4 separate regions of the Homo sapiens genome follow, and all the other regions are linked to region 4. The links are contacts of gene promoters, found by promoter capture Hi-C in blood cells and fetal thymus (Javierre and others, 2016). All regions are on one chromosome and are shown on one strand. The core of a region is centred on a gene start or on the middle of the fragment in contact, and the rest is flanking DNA. Distances in the headings are between cores, read along the strand shown. Region 1 overlaps KALRN (kalirin RhoGEF kinase). Region 2 overlaps KALRN (kalirin RhoGEF kinase). Region 3 overlaps KALRN (kalirin RhoGEF kinase). Region 4 holds the start of ROPN1 (rhophilin associated tail protein 1).

Region 1 (2,743 bases), core at 49-2,548, 540 kb after region 4:
ATTTCCTATAAAGAAGTTTTTTTTTTTAAAACACTAGCAACTTGTAAACACCCTTGAATATATTAAAATATATAAAATGAAATAAATTTGGAAAAAGATTATGTACAGATATGCTCACAAAACTCAGTCATCATCAGTCACTCCAAGTGTTCCCTGTATTCACTTCTTACACCAATTTACAGCTTGTTTCTCATCTTTTCTTTTAGGCAGAGACTTTCTGGCTCTGCTTATACCAGCTATACTTAAGTTTTCCAAGAGTGCTACAGCACAACCTGATATGAAAACTTGCCCCTTCAGTCTGCTTCAATCTGTCTGGTCACTTGGGTTTCAGATCAGGAGTGTCACAGGCATTGCTGTCGGCTGAGCACTCATAATTAGCTCTCTGGTATTCCCCTCACTCTCTGTCTCCTTTGTCAATGAGATATGGTTTTTTGATCCAAGCTGCTTTTGAATTTTCTTTTCTCTTCTGATCAGAATAGAAAAACACAGAGATTAAAAAACATCTCCAACCTTTCCTTGTCTACCTTCATAAGACTCTGTCATCTAGATCAGGATCAGAAGGCTTGGCTGCATATAAAAGAAAAGCCCCAGGTGACACCGGCTTAAATAACAGAGAAGTTTATTTTTCTTTCACATAACAGATAACTGCAGGTAAGCGGTCCAGGACTGGTAAAGAAGATCCACAAAGTCCTCAGGCACCCGGCTCCTTCTAACTGATTCCTTCACCATTCCCAGGGTTTAGTCTAATTCTCATATCCTAGATGGATGGTGTTCCAGGGAGCAGGTTGGAAGGGAAGGGAAAATGTGCCATCCCCCATATTAAAAAGACCATTGCAACAAACACTAAGAGTTACATCCCATTGGCCAGAGTGTGATAATATGCCTGCAATAGCTGCAAGGGAACCAGGGAAATGTAGTCTTTTACTGGGTAACAATGTGTCTCCCCCAGCCACCCAAAATGAGTCTTCGTTACTAAGAAGTAAGGGCACGATGGACTCTGGGAGGCACTTGCAAGTCTTTGCCATCCATACTCTTTTTTTTTTTTTTTTTTTTTTGAGATGGAGTTTCACACTTGTCACCAAGGCTGGAGTGCAATGGTGCAATCTCAGCTCACTGCAACCTCTGCCTCCCAGGTTCAAGTGATTCGCCTGCCTCAGCCTCCTGAGTAGCTGGGATTACAGGCATGAGCCACCACGTCCGGCTAATTTTTGTATTTTTAGTAGAGATGGGGTTTTGCCATGTTGGCCAGGCTGGTCTTGAACTCCTGACCTCAGGTGATTCGCCTGCCTCAGCCTCCCAAAATGCTGGGATTATAGGCGTGAGCCACCATGTCCAGCCTCCATTCTATTTTGTATTACCAGAAAAATTGCTAGTAGCAATCCATTGTACATATCTAATTAGTTTCCTCCTCCACATTGTGTACTTACTTTGTACAGAAAAAGATGTTACTTTATTTGTGCAGAAGAGTATTAATGTATAGCAAAGGTATCCTTGAGACTCATAACTCCTAACTTATTCCATATATCATAAAGAAGCGTTGTATTTTTCCTTCTTAACATTTAAAATATATTTTAAGACAGATCAATTTTTAAAGAGTTATGAGACATTTTCCTCAAAATTGATGATGCCACAATGAAAAGCCCAAAGTTATAAACCAGTAAAAGGCATTTAAAATATACACTCTACACTTATTTCTGAAAGGACTTGAGAAAGTTCAATTAAAACACTAAAAAAGATGTGAAATTTAAAAAGTAAACATAAGAGAATCCACATCTTCATGCAGGGGATGTAGAAGTTTCAAATTTATGATGAGGCGAAGTACAGCACTTTCCATGTACTTCAGCAAACTCCAGTTGACAATAATTGAAAACCTACTCCATAAGAGAATTTTTTTTTAAGATAGAGTCTCACTCTGTCACCCAGGCTGGAATGCAGTGGCACAATCTCGGCTCACTGCAACCTCCACCTCCCGGTTTCAGGCAATTCTCATGCCTCAGCCTCCTGAGTATATGGGACTACAGGCAGGTGCCACTACGCCCAGCTAATTTTTGTATTTTTAGTAGAGATGGGGTTTCACCATGTTGGCCAGGCTGGTCTTGAACTCCCGACCTAAGGTGATCCTCCTGCCTTGGCCTCCAAAAGTACTGGGATTACAGGTGTGAGCCACCATGCCTGGCCAAGAGAAATTTTTTAAAACCACGATACTTTCAATCCAGTGAAAGGTACAGGAATGTAGACAAATACCATCCAAGGCAAAAAATGTGCTGGAATAGAGATACAAATATCATTCTGCTAGAGTGAAAAGGTAGGGAGATGTTACTGGGAACTGCTGGTGGTGATGATGCAGACAGGAGCTGCTTATGGAGGCGATTCGTGAATGAGGTGGCCTTTGAACTGGCCTCGAGGATGGAAAAGGATTTCCAGAAGATGACAGAAGTGTGGTTTGGGAAAGGAAGGAAGGAACTATTCCAGGCTGAGAAAAACATCATAAATAAAAGTCAAGAAGTTGGGAAAATGTTGGCTCTGTCTGAGAATCAGCAAGCATAGGTGAGATTTGGCGTGCAGGATCTGTCTAGGTAGCAGATGAGTAGGAAAGACTGAGAGGTTGATCTGAGAAACCTTATGTGGTATGCTCAGGGATTTGGACCTGGTTCTCTGGGCAGTAGAGGAATAGGAGAAGAAGGAAGATGAGCATGCTCACATTCTATGACCTCTGTTTTCTCAGTAAGTAGTGAGCAAATCT
Region 2 (2,700 bases), core at 92-2,591, 520 kb after region 4:
AAAGAGCACAAACAGTAATTTGAATGATATGTTTTATGTATATATCTCTGGTTTGTGTATATTTATGAATTTGTGTGTGTGTTCCTCAGTGTGTTTCCCATATACTCTGTAAGAAGTATTCATCTATGTGGTTTGAGGGGCAAGAACTTGGATATTTTCCCTGGCCATTAGGCCAGTGACATAAACTAGTAAGTCGGGTCCTCCACAAGCTCATGACTGTCGCTGGCGCAATACAGGGCTTACCTGAGCTGTAGCCTGGAGTTATTTTTGCCCCCACTTCCTATTCTCTCTCAATATGAAAGACTAATTTTGCTTTTAAACATGAAGGGGGTGGCCAGGTGCGGTGGCTTACGCCTATAATCCCAACACTTTGGGAAGCTGAGGCGGGTGGATCATGAGGTCAGGAGTTTGAGACCAGCCTGGCCAACGTGGTGAAACCCTGCCACTACTGAAAATACAAAAAATTAGCCAGGCATGGTGGCACACGCCTGTAATCCCAGCTACTCAGGAGGCTGAGGCAGTAGAATTGCTGGAACCACAGAGGCAGAGGTTGCAGTGAGCTGAGATCACACCACTGCACTCCAGCCTGGGAAACAGAGCAAGTCTCTGTCTTGGAAAAATAAAAAATAAAAACAATTAAAAATTTAAAAAAAAACATGAAGGGGGAATATGTATGTGCACATGTGTGTTTGTATGTGTGTTTATGCATATGTACATACATACGTATGTGCATGTATGTATGCATATATGTATATATGAAGAAAATACACCAGAATGTAAATAATGGGTATTTCTGGGTGGTGTCTTTTTTAGTTTTTGTATTATGTCTTACAACATGACATAATAAATTTAACAAAAACCTAATAGATATTATTTTTTAAAGACCAGAAAGGAACAAGATTATCAGATAGTTGCTGGGGTCCACCCTCTGCATGAACCAAGGGTGAGGGACGAGCAGGTGCCTAGCAGAGAACAGGGTGATCCGCTCTCAGGACCTTGGGATTCAAGAAGGCAGTCAGACAGTGAATTCAGGCTGACTTGCAGGACTGGCAGAGGTTGTGAGCTGAAGAACTGGCAACTTTGTTTGGTTGTGAAGGTCAGGAGCCTTGGACTGTGAAAAGAAAGAGAAAGAAAATTCAGGGGGTAGGGGGCTGGGAGCAGGAAGGGGATAAGAAGTTCTTGAAGGTTTACCCCAAAACCCCGCAGTCTAGAGACCTGTGGAAAAGGTGAGGAAAAGCTTGAAATATAGCTTCAAATTCATGAGACATTTTCATGAAGAGATATGCAGTGGGAGAGAGAAGCAGACGTGTTTCCAGTTTGGTGTTTACTTTCTGTGATTCCAGAGGGAGGGGTTCCCAGAGTGACTCAGCATGGGGACACGGGGACCCAGGTCAGGAGGACACAGAGAGCGCCCACTAGGGAAAGCGTTTGCCACTGTGTGAGCAGCAAGCTTTTAAACAGGAGGTGGGTCAAGACAGCTCCCCCGAACCCATTACCCTCTCTTCCCTCCTCTCCCACAGTCTAAGGACAGAGGGAAGGTTTTCTGGTAAAGAAACTATTTCTAACCTTTCTAAATTGGAAACAAACAAAAAATGACATGAAACAAGTATTTTCCAGGATGTCTCTCCCACACTGCCTAGGTTCAGAGTTCTCTCAGAGGGTTCCCTGAGCAGAGGGAAAAATGGCAAGAGGAAAAACATAGATTGAATGTTGCTGGCTGTGGCTGATGTCTTTGCACTGGGGTGGGTGTGGCCAGCCTGTCACTCAGGAGGCAGCATAACAGGTGGGCATACCTCCGCACCACCTACGAGGCCTTCCTGCTCATCGCTGACCGCTCAGCCAGCCTGTCTTTATCAGTAACCTCCTTATAGAATTTGGGAAGAAGAGCCCTGGGGTCAACATGAGCAGCAAACACAAACATCTAGATTCAAAAGGAGACCCTTCAGGCAGAGTAGGATGCATGATAAAACAAATAAGAAGGTCGCAAAAATCAGTCCTTGAAAAGAGCTGACCTGAAAGTGTGTTTCATGGTATTAATTTATGTCTTCTCTCTATGCAGTATTTAATATTTTTGTTACTGTATATCTCAGTTTTTAATTCTGATGGCTGCATCAAGTGATATTTCCAGTCTGGGCTCTGGTTTGAAACCTGAGGTGGAGAAAGCCTTTTTAAAACCAGTTAATATAGTATTCACAGAGTTCCTCTGTAGGTAATGAAGGAACACAGAATACATAAAGTCCCTGCCAAGGACAGAATCCCCCACCCCATCTAATGGAAGAGATACAGGCTTTTCCCTAAAAGTCCCTGCCAAGGACAGAATTCCCCACCCGATCTAATGGAAGAGATACAGGCCTTTCCCTAAGAAGTCACTGCTATAATTGGGCAGGCAGAGAAAATCACAAAGGCTGCCTGCAAGCAAGCCATCCAGAGGTTAAGCAACTAACAGTAACCACTGCCTTTCTTACTGAACTCCTAATATGAGCCTGGCATTTTACATGTACTCTCTCCTGTCATTCCCACAACAATTCTTCAAGGTAAGTATCATTATCCTCATTTTGCAGATGAGGAAAACGTCACTCCAAGAGGTTGAATAATTTACCCAGGGTCACACAACCAGAAAGTGGCAGAGATGAGATTTGAACCCAGGTGTTTCTGATATCCATTATGCACACTGCCTTCCACTGGCCAAGTCCACTAAAG
Region 3 (2,700 bases), core at 39-2,538, 560 kb after region 4:
GTTGAGCAGAGATAACTGGCAGGAGCTTGAATCTCATCTTCTCATTCTACCAAGTCAGTATCATTCTTGCATCTGCTTTCTATCATTAAAGAAAAAAAAAAGTTCTCAGCCCGGCGCAGTGGCTCACGCCTGTAATCCCAGCACTTTGCGAGTCCGAGGTGGGCGGATCACGAGGTCAGGAGAATGGCGTGCACCCGGAAGGCAGAGCTTGCAGTGAGCGGAGATCGCACCACTGCACTCCAGCCTGGGTGACAGAGCGAGACTCTGTCCCAAAATAAATAAATAAATAAATAAATAAATAAATAAATAAATAAATAAATAAAGTTATCTTGTTTACTACCTCCCATTCTCTTTGTTCTTGTGGATTTGTGTCTCCCCCCACTAACACCTTATGTTGTTTTTGTCAGGTTTAGGAATTCATGGAGATATAGTCACATGATTAAAGGGCAAGATAAATTTGGTTGAAAGGGGCTGAGAAAAAAAAATTAACAGTTATCTGTAAGATACTAATAGGAATAGGTGGGCAGCCAATGGGAGACACCTCTCAGACATTGTAACTAGGCATCTCAGTTATATATCAGGCAATAATTCATGGAATTTATTCACTCGCGCATTCAACAGATATTTATCACCTGCTGTGTGCCAGGCATTGCTCTAAACTCGGGAGATAGGACCATGAGCAAGACGGAATGCTCTGCTCTTCTGTATCTTACATAGGATAAGAGTAACACATAATTTATGTAAACAAGGCAACACATTAATGATAAGTGCTCAAGAAAATTCAGTAGCACTGTGTGTTAGAGATTCAATATAGAAACTACTCTATTTATCAAATATTAAAACTGGAAGCAGCCCTGGAGTCCAATTTCCTCATCTTAAAAATGAGGAAATTTAGGTATGAAGAAGGGAAGGGGTTTGCTGAGTGTCATACATGGGTAAAACCTGCACCAGCACCAAGGCCTCCTGATTCCCACTCCTGCATTCTTCCCACTATTAATTACTATGCAATTCACAAGACCTGCAAGACCAGGGGACCATGGTGCTCATTTACACACCATGGGAAACAACTAAACCAAACAGCTCCTTCAGTTGCAGTTAGTAGAAGCCACAGTTCCAGCAAGCAAAGATAAAGTAAATTGTAAGCTTTAGCCTCTTAATTGGACCTGGCAGCTCCATGGGCTTCCAACATACAAACTGATGAAATCCCAGAGCTCCACGACAATGTTCCTAAATGCCCAGACATTGCTTTACACATTTGCTAAAAAAAAAATTATAATCAATTCAAGATAAAAGCACAGCACTAAGCTCTTTTAATGGAACCTAGTTTCTGGAGAAGCCTTCAGAGTTTTATAGTAGGGCGAGGACAGAAGTTTAGTAGAGGAAGGATTTGAAGCAGCTATACTAAAGCATCATCAGCAATTTGGGGCTTTCCTGAAGCTTCTATAGTGGCCCTAGAGCAAAATTGGAAACTGTCTATCCGCTCCCCCATTTCTCCCCTCAAAGTGTTACACCTCCTTGAAATATTTGCATTTTTCCCCATTACCTTTGTTGATTTGTTTTAGAGATTGTTATTGTTGATGTTATCATTACTTTCATTATAAAGCAGCACTTATGTGAGAAACACTGGGCAATACTGGAGATCAGAAAGCCAGAGGGAAAATTACCCAGAGTGCACCACCCAACAATACCAGTGTTAACATTTCAACGAATTTTCCTTCTGTTTCCTATGAATAGGGTTGCTAAGTTGTTGATGATGTTCACACAGTTATATATACAACTGTACGTCTTGTCCTCTTAAAAAATTTTTTACTTTATATAAGTATTTAAGCTATTACAAAGCTTTATAAATAATCTAATGGCTGCATAATTAATTACTCACTTAGTAGATATATCATAATTATTTAACCATTCCCTTCCTGTTAGGTTTTTTAAGTAATTTCAACTTCCATGTTAGATTCAAGGGTTACACATGCAGTTTTGTCACCTAGGTATATTGTGTGATGCTGAGGTTTTGGGTACAAATGATCCCGTCACCTAGATAGTGAGCATAGTACCCAATAGGTAGCTTTTTAACCCTCATCCACTTCCCACTGGGTAGATTTTTATATTTTAGTATTGGGGCAGGGGGGCGGTGATGTTATTGTTGTAAAATTTTCTTCATTTGAAAAAATGCTATTATGAGCATTTTCATGCTTAAAGTACAGCTGCATGTCACTTGTGTGGTGCATCTCATCTTTTTGCATTTGGAAGGGAATCATAGTCTGGTTTGAGGTGTTTCATGTTAAGGGACATTACCTAATTAAATGAAATCACTTTCTGATGGAGGAATTCCAGGCATTAGCAGCAGGTGCAGGGAGTGTTGAGGGGAGGAGAGAAAGACAGTTTTTGCACAGGAGTTGGCAGGACTTCACGGTGCCCTTGAAACTGTGCCAAGTAGATATGCTCCAGCTTTACATTTTTTGCCAGCCAGCTCTGGCCTCCTGTGAGGCTGTTCATATGTAGATGTTAATTCATGTGAACTTGGTGCCTAAGGCTGGCTAAGAGTTGTGGAGGAATCAGATGATCAGATGGAAGAAGTTGCAGGGCAGGCAGCCAGGGGAGGAAGAGGAGGTCGGACTTATCTGATGGGCGCTCTTGGGCACAGCTCCCCCTCTGTCAAGAGTATCAGATCCAAGTGCTCTGCAAGGCAGTGTCAGAAGT
Region 4 (2,700 bases), core at 71-2,570:
TATACCTGCCAAGTGCTGAAGAATGTAGGTCTTAAAATAGACTATAGCCTTGTTTCAGGGATCTCTCACTTGGTTTTATTGGTATGGGCTAAACAGGGCTTCCGTTTCATAAATGAAAGTCTCCAGTAACATGAATGAAAGGCTCCAGGGCAGAATCTCAGAGGGTTTCTATGAGTATCACTTGGAACCAAGCACAGGCAACTGCACATCCCTGTTTGGGTTTGGAATTGGAGATGGTGGGTTTGGGATGTGGTTACTCTTGTTTGGAATACATTCTCCTCCTCTTAACAGGTTGATTCTTCCTTTGGAGGTCTGCTTAACCTTCCCTGATTACCCTGTCAGTTCCATTGTACATACCCTTCCAGAGCATCACTTACCTATCCTTAGTGTGATTCTTTGAGTAACATGTGTCTCCCCCAGCAAACTCCACGGCAGGACTGGTCAGTTTTTGCTCACCACACCATCCCAGTGCCTAGCCCAGTGCCTGGAACTTAGTGTTCAATAGGTACTAGTAAAAATGAATGCGTGATAGCAGTCTATGAAGTGCTAGCTATAAAATGAACACGTGATAGGAGTCTATGAAGTGCTAGGTATAAAATAATGCGTGATAGGAGTCTATGAAGTGCTAGGTATAAAATAATATGTGATAGGAGTCTATGAAGTGCCAGGTATAAAATAATGCCTGACAGGAGTCTATGAAGTGCTAGGTATAAAATAATGTGTGATAGGAGTCTATGAAGTGCTAGGTATGCCCATGACATCCACATGACAATTCACCCAGAGGTATTTTTATATCCCTGTCGCTGATGAAAAAGCAGAGGTGTGGCTCCTCGGTGGAGGGCTCTGATTCCAAACTCTTGAGCCTCCCAACCACTGTCCTCCGGGTAAGAAACCGTATAATAGTATTCTGGGTACAAAATACGCACACAAATTGGCCAGAAAGCCATAATCCCCCACAGTCACATTCTCTTGAAGATCCCCTTGCCTTCCCCTTGCCCTGTGAACAAGGAGAGGCTCAGAATCCAGGGGGCGTCCGGCAGGGCTCCTCCCTCAGACCAGCGCAGCCCTCGGGGCGCTCAGAGCCCTGCCCTCCCTCCACTTCCCCTCGGGGTGGCTACCTCAGGCTCGCTCCCAAACCGGCTGTCTGGCTTCAGGCGACACCTGGCGCCTGGCCTCAGGCGAGAGGTGTGGGGAGAGACCGAGTGCCTCCCACCCTTCTTAAGAAGGAGAGCAGTAGAACCTCGGCGGGGAGGGCAGCAGCGGCCGGGGGTGACAGCAGCGGCGGGGCACGACCGCCGTTAGCGTTAGACGTTAGCGCTCCGCCTTCGCCTGGCAAACCCTGCGCGGGCTCCGCTGCCAGGTCACCAGGGGTAGCGCCGGGCGCGACGTCACAGAGCCGCCCCGCCTCTCCTGCAGCGGCGGGTTCCCAGGGTCCCGCTAGGGCGCTGCTAGGGGACGCTGAAAGCTGTTTTGGGCTTTGCTGGTGGTGGAAGGACCAGACGGCCTGGAGGGTTAAGGACTGGGCTGGGGACGTTAGGAAACCCGGGCTGGGGGCGTTGGGGGTGGGGCGGAATGTGTAGCCATTGACGGTGCGCTTTTGTAGGTGAGAGGGCAGAAGTGGAGCTTGATCTTTCGGCTTGTGGAAAGTGGACAGGTGAGAATTCCTCAGGAATCATAGTAACAACACTTCTTACAATGAGTTTTTGGTGCCAGGAATTGTTCTAAGTGCATTACACACATGAACTCATTTCATCCTTACTGTCACCCCATGAGGCAAGTACTATTGTTATCCCCATTTTTACAGATGAGGGAACTGAGCACAGAGAGGTTAAACTTGTCCAAGATGACAGTCAGCAAGTGACAGAGTCAGGATCTGAATCTGGGTTGCGTGGTCCCAGATTCCTCACTCTTGACCTTATAATGCTAAGAAAGGGGCATGGAGTGGATAGGAACAGAGCCTGAGATGCCTGGGGACAACAGGGAAAGATAGAAAATATTTATAGGGTAGAATGTGGTCACTGTGCCAGGGCACTTTTACAAACATGATGACATCAAAGTTTCACAGTAAACTCTGAAGGTAGGTATTACCTTCGCTTTGGAAATAAAAAACAGGCTCAAGGCTTCGAGTAATTTTGCCTGTGATCGAACAGCTGGCAGTAGGGCTCAGGGCCCAACTTTACTCCAGGTCTTCCGGTTTCAAGACTGTGTGTGTGTGTGTGTGTGTGTGTGTGTGTGTGTGTGTGTGTGTGTGTGTGTTTTGAGACAGGGTCTTGCTCTGTTGCCCAGGCTGGAGTGCAATGGGGTAATCATGACTCACTGCAGCCTCAATCTCCTAGGTCTAAGCAATCCTCCCACCTCAGCCTCCCAAGTAGCTGAGACTGCAGGTGCTTGCCACGATGACAGGCTAATTTTTATATTTTTATAAACGGGGTTTTGCCATGTTGCCCAGGCTGGTCTTGAATCCCTGGGCTCAAGTGATCCACCTGCCTTGGTCTCCCAAAGTATTGGGATTACAGGTTTGAGCTACCGCACCTGGTCTCAAGACTGTTCGTTTTAAGCACCCAAGGAGGCAAGAAAAGCCCCATCTTTCTCTGCTACATCCCGTGTCACTTCACACCTATTTTAAAGGGGCCCATTGCATCATCTAATCCTTCATTCCATTTATACAACAGTGTGTATTAGTCTAAATAGATTAGTTCA

The links. The method cuts DNA at HindIII sites, captures the fragments that hold promoters and counts their contacts. A CHiCAGO score of 5 or more calls a contact.
Region 1: a contact is called between a fragment that was not itself captured here and the fragment with the promoter of ROPN1 in region 4, in 1 of 17 cell types (M2 macrophages). The highest score is 5.6, in M2 macrophages.
Region 2: a fragment that was not itself captured here is called in contact with the fragment with the promoter of ROPN1 in region 4 in 1 of 17 cell types (M1 macrophages); the score reaches 7.0 in M1 macrophages.
Region 3: a fragment that was not itself captured here is called in contact with the fragment with the promoter of ROPN1 in region 4 in 2 of 17 cell types (endothelial precursors and M1 macrophages); the score reaches 5.7 in endothelial precursors.

Annotation. Positions count from the first base shown.
Region 1 is chr3:124,535,164-124,537,906 of GRCh38, forward strand. The region is part of intron 33 of KALRN (kalirin RhoGEF kinase); the gene reads left to right. Among named protein-coding and RNA genes, the nearest start is that of MIR6083, 160 kb to the left of the region's middle. The HindIII fragment of the contact is 5,865 bases long and covers 1-2,743 here.
Region 2 is chr3:124,512,038-124,514,737 of GRCh38, forward strand. The region is part of intron 33 of KALRN (kalirin RhoGEF kinase); the gene reads left to right. Among named protein-coding and RNA genes, the nearest start is that of MIR6083, 140 kb to the left of the region's middle. The HindIII fragment of the contact is 213 bases long and covers 1,236-1,448 here.
Region 3 is chr3:124,555,143-124,557,842 of GRCh38, forward strand. All of the region lies in intron 33 of KALRN (kalirin RhoGEF kinase), which reads left to right. It overlaps LOC105374076 (a long non-coding RNA gene), which reads right to left. Exons shown (of 4, transcript XR_001740872.2): 3 at 1-79. Among named protein-coding and RNA genes, the nearest start is that of UMPS, 170 kb to the right of the region's middle. RefSeq lists a silencer at 548-739. The HindIII fragment of the contact is 294 bases long and covers 1,142-1,435 here.
Region 4 is chr3:123,990,804-123,993,503 of GRCh38, forward strand. It overlaps ROPN1 (rhophilin associated tail protein 1), which reads right to left and starts at 1,321. Exons shown (of 6, transcript NM_001317774.2): 1 at 1,119-1,321. RefSeq lists an enhancer at 1,093-1,609. The HindIII fragment of the contact is 3,137 bases long and covers 1-2,700 here.